Linked DNA regions of Homo sapiens: region 2 is linked to region 1. Evidence: promoter capture Hi-C in human tissues and cell types (Jung and others, 2019). All regions are on one chromosome and are shown on one strand. Each heading gives the region's core, a stretch centred on a gene start or on the middle of the fragment in contact. The rest is flanking DNA. Distances are from core to core; before and after follow the strand shown. Region 1 holds the start of ABHD12B (abhydrolase domain containing 12B). Region 2 overlaps ATL1 (atlastin GTPase 1).

Region 1 (4,038 bases), core at 1,154-3,653:
CTTAGGTCACTTTTCAAAAGTCAGGTTTGTTGAGGTATAATTCATATTCAGTCAAATTCACCTGTGAGTTATATGCATTGGTGGATATTTATAGTAACCACCACCACACTTGAGATGTTGACTATTCCCATCACTCTAAAATGTCCCTTCGCACCCCTTTGTAGTCAACCTCCCCTCCCCACCTCCAGCCCCTGCTATCCCCTGATTTAATCTCTACCCTTAAGACACTTTTCATTTCCTGTTCTGTGTTCTCATGGTTCATCCTGAAATGAATCTCTACCAGCTGGGATCCTGATTTGTATCCCTACGGTGCCCAATGTGGTACCTGGTACCTAAAAGGTGCTCAGTAAATGGGTGCTGAATAAATGAATGCATATTTTGTTTTTCAGGTTCTATCAAATCATATGGGAGACTTTGTTCCCTGATTTCCAGGATGTGCCATTTGAAAGGGGCTATTTATACTGGGAAAGACCTTCTTGCAGAGTCTTATGCAACCTTTCAAAAAATGGGCCATAGTGATTTCCAATTTCAGAGATTTTTGCTGAGCATTTCAAACATATCCCTAGACTTGGGGCTTACAACTTTGTTCATCCAGCAAGTAGATGGAAATATCCTCTCTCAACCTGAGCAAGTAGATGGAAATAGACTCTGGGACCATATGCAGCTGTTCTTCTCTCCTCCAAGCTCTCCTCCCCATCTTTGATCCCTCCATCTCCACTTGGCATGGCCCCAGAGTCCCATCCAGAGCTTCCCTGAACAAGTTCTGGGAGATTCCAGACCACGTTTATGAAGAACTCCAAGGGTAGAGCCGACATCTGCTTGAAGCTTTCTCATCATGCAGGTTGTGGCTCTGTGAAAACCCACCTGCTGCTGGCTCATCAGTCAGGCTTGGATCCCATTGGTCCTTTCTGAGCTAATTCCTCTTCTATCTTGATGTGTGTGAATCAGAAACTGAACATTCCAGCCAGGTGTGGTGACAGAGACCTGTAATCCCAGCACTTTGGGAGGCCGAAGTGGGAGAATTGCTTGAGGCCAGGAGTTTGATAGCAGCCTGGGCAACATAGTGAGATCTCATCTCTATACACACAAGCGTGCGTGCGCGCGCGCACCAGGCATAGTGGTGCATGCTTGTAGTCCCAGCTACTTGGGAGGCTGGAGTGGAAGGATTGCTTGAGTCCAGGAGTTCAAGTGAGTTCAAGTACAGTGAGCTATGATTGCACCACTGCACTCCAGCCTCAGTGACAGGGTAAGACCATGACAAGAAAGAAAGAAAGAAAGAAAGAAAGAAAGAAAGAAAGAAAGAAAGAAAGAAAGAAAGAAAGAAAGAAAGAAAGAGAAAGAAAGAAAGAAAGAAAGAAAGAAAGAAAGAAAGAAAGAAAGGAAGGAAGGAAAGAGAAAGAAACAAAGAAAACAAACATTCCCAGAGCAAGTATAAGAGTATTAACAGGCAGTGAACAAAATCCCCCTTTGCCCTGACAGTTCCATGAAATGAGCTAGTACTCAAAGAAAACTTCCCTTTCTTGAAAAGTGTGGGTATTTTCCCCCAGACCATCTTACTATCCTCAAGCAGATGGGTTTCCACGCACTTTCTGGTGCTGACAGCCCCCTGCTGTGCCCTCTGAACACAGACACTACAAAAAACCCATTTCACCTCTTAAGATTTGCACCTTGCCTCCAAGATGAAGCCTTGATGCTGGCATCCGAATGTATCCAAATAAAACCTAATTCCCTTTCTTCCTCCTTTGTCCCCACACATGCAGGCCGTGGCTTCCCTAGAGTAGCTCTGGTAGACAGTTCCTGCTCCTAGGAGACAGTTGCACAATGTAAACCTGCACCAAGATGTAAACCTGTACCAAGGTCAAAGTTTCAAGGTGTGAACTCCTTGGTACAATGATGAGGTTCTGCTACATGCTGCTACGTAAACAAAATACCGAAAAGGTCTTAATTTTTTGCTACATGGAGTAATTGTGTTCATAACCCCACGTGGACAGACAAATCATTAGTAAATCAAAGGGAGCCAAAGAAATTCTTTCTATAGTAAGGGTGACAGGGTGGGGGGCTGTGAGGATTTTGGGGGTGGATGGGGAATTGGAGACAAGGAGGCTTCAGAAAAAGAGAAAAAGAAAAAAGTGAGGTTTAAGTAGAGGAAAGCTTATATTCTTCATGAAAATCAAAAGCTGTGGCGGTCAAACTTTTGTGTTAGTAGTACCATGGTGAAAACATATTTTACTGCGTTGCGCGCGCCTCACACCCACACACACACAGAAGTATAATGGAAATCAATTTAAAATAAAATGTAGCATAGCTAGCTATAAGCTTAGGACATCTGTGTGTGTGTGTGTGGCCGCGAACAGCCTGACCCGGGCGGAGCGCACCCTCGGGCCGCGTCTCCCCCGCCGTACCAGCCTGCCTGACCGCGCGGAGGAGGAGGGCGGGCGCGGTGCCGCCGGGGCGGGAAGGTCGCGGGCGGCTGCTCCGGACTGCAGCTCCCGCGGCGGTGGCGGCGTATCGGGACACGGCGCGGGATGGACGCGCAGGACTGCCAGGCGGCCGCATCGCCCGAGCCGCCCGGGCCCCCAGCCCGTAGCTGCGTGGCCGCCTGGTGGGACATGGTCGACCGCAACCTGCGGTGAGTACCGCCCGGTCCACCCCTGGCCGGGCCCCGACGGCTCAGGCTGCGCGGGGATGGGGCAGGGGGCCAGGGCGCGGCCGAGGCCGCAATCCCCTCTGCTGGCCCGGGCCCAAGGCCCAGCATTGTGGCTTCCGGGGGACCTCGGCGGCCCCCTGAGAACTCTAGGGCTCTTTGGTTGCCCTTGCTATCCTCAGCCTCAATCCCAACCTGGACCAGCGAGACTCTCAGGTTTGGTATTTCAGGAAGTTATAACTTTTGGGGGCTTCTGAAATACAGATGCCAGGGAGATGGTTGAATTCCTACACCAATCTCTATTATCTGACCATTTTGCTAACATACAAGATGGATCTGAATGACATTAGTAATAGTGACAATAGTAATATATGTTGTAATCTTGGACGGGATCCTCTTAGGTCAAGGGCCTATCTGTGTAGGTGGAAAAGAATCAGAAAATCCGTGCCTAGTTCCCTGAGTGTGAACTCCCTGGCATGTATTTAAAGAAAACACCTCCAGTATGCTAAAGATGTACATAGTGTGTTGAAACCATAACTTGGCATTACCTGTGCCAAGTTCTTATGTTGTTTAAGTCTGAAATGTATCAGTGGGTGTTTCGGGTTTTGTTTCTGTTTTCTTCCTCCCATGGATCCTCGGTTTAAACAGTAATCTTAAATTACCTGAATCCACCTGCAACATATTGTCAGTCTTGTTTGCACTGAAGCCAGGTATTGGTTGGAGATCGTGGACCCAGGACACGTGGGTATTTCATTTAGTTTTGTTGGTGTGGGAAGGTATTGGCATTTTTACTTCCCTCTTTCTATTCCTTTTGTTTAATTTGTGCTGATTAGAAAATATCCAAAAATTACATCCAGACACAGGAGACCTCACTTTGGAGTGCCCAGAGTGATGATGACAAACGGGGATCTTTTCTCTCTCTCTCTCTCTTTTTTTTTTCTTTTTTGAGACAAGGGTTTCACTCTGTTGCCCAGGCTGGAGTGCAGTGGCACAATCTTGGCTCATTCCCAGGGCTCCAGCGATCCTCCCGTCTCAGCCTCCCCAGTAGCTGGGACTACAGGCACCTGCCACCACACTGAGCTGATTTTTGTATTTTGTGTAGATATGGGTTTTCACTACATTGTTCAGGTTGGTCTCAAACTCCTGGAGCTCACAGATTCCACCTGCCTTGGCACCCCAAAGTGTTGGGATTACAGGTGTGAGCCACTGCACCTGGTCTCTTTTCTCTTCTATTCCTTTTTATTCTCATTGCAGACAGCAGAGTGCTGGCAGCTCTGCAGGGGCCCAGTCACCTAGAACCCATGCCTCCCAGCTCTGGGTTGGATCTGAACACGTGGCAGAATGTCCTGATTGCACTTGTCAAACTGCATATTAACAGGACTTCTCTCCCAGAT
Region 2 (4,038 bases), core at 1,020-3,519, 290 kb before region 1:
CCTATAATAGATACCATGTGTTTGTGATATTTAAAAAATTTATGTCTGGATTTTATTTGCTATATTTTGTTTAGAGCTTTTGAGTTTATCTTGATAACAGATACTGGCTTATGATTTTCCTTTTTTATAATGTCCTTGTCAGTTATTGGTATCAGAGTTAGTCTGACATTATAAAATAAGTTGAGAATGGTCTCTTATTTTCTGTTTCTTAGAAGTTTGTGTAAGATTGCTCTTCGTTGTTTTCTAAATGTTTAGAAGAGTTCACCAGGGAAGCTGAGCCTGGAATTTCCTTTGCATGAAGGTTTTAAATTATGAATTTAATTTTTTCTAGGTATAACAGTATTCATAGTTATTTGTCTTATGTGGTTTTTTTATAAGTGATACTTTTAATTTGTTCATTTCATCAGAGTTATCAAATTTATTGTCATAAAATTACTCATAATATCCCCATATTATTTTAAAAAATCTGTAGGATCTATAGTATCTTTTTTTATATCTAATATGAGTAATTTGTGGGTTTTTTCTCTTATTTTCTTTGATCAGTCTTATATTATTAAGTTAATCTCACTGATCTTGATTTCTAGTTCATTTATTTTTGACCATTATTTCCTATCTTTTCTTGTCTTTGAATCTAATTTGATATTCTTTTTACTGTTTCTTGACATAGATATTAGCTTATGATTTTTTTCAAGCATCTTTACTACTTTATGCATTTCAAAGTTTAAGTTTCCTCTAAGCAAGTTTTTTATATGTCATATTTTAAATATTTCAATATAAATAAGATACTACGACCTAACATATTGATTCAATATTTATATGAAAAGGGTCAAAATAGCCAAGACTGATAGTAATTAGAAGATAAGAGGGCTTGTCCTATTAACATATAATGGCTTTTCATAAAGCTATTTTAATGAATATAGTGTAGTATTGGTGCTGTCAAAGACAAATTGACAAATAGATCAGAACATTCATCAGATCATTTAGTTCACAATATTTTCTAGTTTTCATTGTACTTTCTTCTTTATTCCATAGGTTATTTAGATTTATTGCTTAATTTCCAAACATTTAGAGATTTTCTTAATATCTTCTTGTTACTGATTTCTGGTTTAATTCCTTTATGATGAGATAACATATTCTTTCTTACTGTAATTCTTTGAAGTTTATTGAGATCTGATTTATAAGCCAGTACCTAGGCTATTTGGTAAATGTTCCATATGAACTTAAAAAGAATGTGTGGTTCTATAATTACTAGATGTCAGATAGGTAAGGCTGGCTACTGGCTAATGATGCTGTTCAAATCTGCATATTTACTGATTTTTGTCTGAATTTTAAGGCAGTGAAAAGAAAATTCCTAGAAAGATAGAATGAACTAGAAGTATTTCAAGAACTATCAAGCTTTATTGGTACTAATATCACAATAGCAATAATAACTATTAAAGAAATTGAAATGGCCAGTCGCGGTGGCTCATGACTGTAATCCCAGCACTTTGGGAGGCCGAGGCGGGCGGATCACTTGAGGTCAGGAGTTTGAGACCAGCCTGGCCAACATGGTGAAACCCCATCTCTACTAAAAATACAAAAAATTAGCCGGGCATGGTGGCACGTGCCTGTAGTTCCAGATACTTGGGAGGCTGAGGCAGAATTGCTTAAACCCGGGAGGCAGAGGTTGCAGTGAGCCGAGATCGCGCCACTGCACTCTAGCCTGGGTGACAGAGTGAGTCTCCATCTCAACAAAAGAAATTTAAATGACAGTTAAAAATCATCTCACAAAGAAAACACCAGGTTCACAAAGTTTTACAGGTGAGTTCTATCAAAATTTCAAAGAACCGTTCACTCCAATCTTTTATTACAAACTTTTCTCTTTTTTTTTTTTTCCATAAGACGGAGTCTCACTCTGTCACCCAGGCTGGCGTGCAGTGGTGTGATCTCAGCTCACTGCAACCTCTGCCTTGTGGGTTCAAGTGATTCTCCTGCCTCAGCCTCTCAAGTAGTTGGGACTACAGGCACGCACCACCATGCCTAGATAATTTTTGTGTTGTTGTTTTTTTTTTTTTTTAGTAGAGACGGGGTTTCACCATCTTGGCCAGGTTGGTCTCAAACTCTTGACCTCAAATGATCCACCCGCCTCGGCCTCCCAAAGTGCTGGGATTACAAGTGTAAGCCACCATGCCCAGCTGCTAATTCATTTTATAAAGCTTGCATAACTTATATAATAAAACCACCCAAGGACAAAATAAGAAAGGAAAGTCATAGGCAACTCATTTATGAATATACATGCACAATTCCTAAACAAAATCTTAGCAAACTGAATCCAACATTATACTATACCCTGAGACTATTAGGTTTATATAAAAAGTGCAAATATATATTATTTGCTACACTGATATGTTGGATGTGAAAAGCTATATGATCACCTCAATAGATGCAGAAGAGATTATTTGATAAAATTCATTATTTGTTTGTGATTTTTAGAAACCCTTAGTAAACTACACATAGAATTTCCTTCATCTGATATGATAAAATGTATCTACCAAACCAAGCCCAACAAAACTGTAACAAAAGTAACCCCAATAGGCAAATATTGGAGACATTCCCTTTAAAATCAGGAAGTTATGCCTACTGAAATCAAAAGTTATGCCCATTATCACCTCTTCTATTCAACATTGCCTTGAATGTCTAATAAGTTAAGAAAAAGAAAAGACATACATAAAGATTGAAAAGTTGGAAACTGTCATTATTTGAAAATTGTATTTCTGTTTCTACATTTAAAAAACCCAAAAGTATCTACATAAATTTTACAGGAAATAATAAAGTTTAGTAAATGCTTCAATATGAGACCAATGCATTAAAGCTAATTATAGTTCTTTATCCAAACAACAACTAGAAAGTATAACTAAAACAACAACAAATAAACCAGTCATAGTTAGCAACAAAAACTACAGTGCACCTGGGACTAAATGTAATAAACCTCTTCCTACTCCCCCAAATTATAAAAACATTACCAAAGGGAATTAAAGACCAAACATAGATGGAGAGCTAGATCATGTTAATGTATTAGAAGACTTAATAGCATGAAGGTACTGATTCATTTCAAACTGATCTATAAATGTAACTTCAGTAAAGAGTTCAACTAACAGATTGATTTTAATATTTATATGGAAAGGGTTAAAATAGCCAAGACCAATAATAATTAGAAGGATAGGAGGTGCTTGCCATATTATATACAGTAACTTTTTATGAAGCTATTTTGAATAGGATAGTGTAAAATTGGTGCTGGTGTAGAGAAATTGATGAATGGATCAGAACTGAGAGCTCAGAAATGAGTCAGTGTGTATGTGGGGGTGTGTGTTTGTGTAAAACTCTTACTTATGACAAAGATCTCATGGCAGACCACTTGAGGAAAGAAGGGGCTTTGACAGAGCTCTGAAAAAATTTGTTTCTCATATTTAAAAAAGAAATGGCTTTTATCTTCCACCCTACAAATAACAACTTCTGATGGACTAGGAACTTAAGTATCAAAAGCAAACTTTAAAACATAGAAAAGTCTGGGCACCGTGGTTCATCCCTGTAATGCCAGCACTTTGGGAGGCCAAGGCACGTGGATCACTTGAGTCCAGGAATTTGAGACCAGCCTGAGCAACATGGTGAGACCCCATCTCTACAAAAAATACAGAAATTAGTGGGACTTGGTGGTTGTGTGTGCCTGTAGTCCCATCTACTCGGGAGGTTGAGGTGGGAGGATCGATTGAGCTCAGGAAGCAGAGGTTGCAGTGAGCTGAGCTCACACCACTGCACTCTGCCTGGGTAACAGAGTGAGACCCTGTCTCAAAAAACAACAAACAAATAAACTTAGAAGAATATATGTGACTATTGGCCGGGCGCGGTGGCTCACGCCTGTAATCCCAGCACTTTGGGAGGCCGAGGCGGGCAGATCACGAGGTCAGGAGATCGAGACCATCCTGGCTAACATGGTGAAACCTTGTCTCTACTAAAAATAAAAAAATAAAAAATAAAAAATGCGAGGTGGCGGGCACCTGT

Evidence for each region. The method cuts DNA at HindIII sites, captures the fragments that hold promoters and counts their contacts. A contact is called where the count stands out against the background at its distance.
Region 2: a fragment that was not itself captured here is called in contact with the fragment with the promoter of ABHD12B in region 1 in 2 of the 25 tissues and cell types used here (lymphoblastoid cells and spleen).

Annotation. Positions count from the first base shown.
Region 1 is chr14:50,869,650-50,873,687 of GRCh38, forward strand. ABHD12B (abhydrolase domain containing 12B) reads left to right here and starts at 2,404. Exons shown (of 13, transcript NM_001206673.2): 1 at 2,404-2,629. The coding sequence starts at 2,526. The HindIII fragment of the contact is 9,841 bases long and covers 1,489-4,038 here.
Region 2 is chr14:50,580,550-50,584,587 of GRCh38, forward strand. The region is part of intron 1 of ATL1 (atlastin GTPase 1); the gene reads left to right. Among named protein-coding and RNA genes, the nearest start is that of ATL1, 22 kb to the left of the region's middle. The HindIII fragment of the contact is 6,629 bases long and covers 1-4,038 here.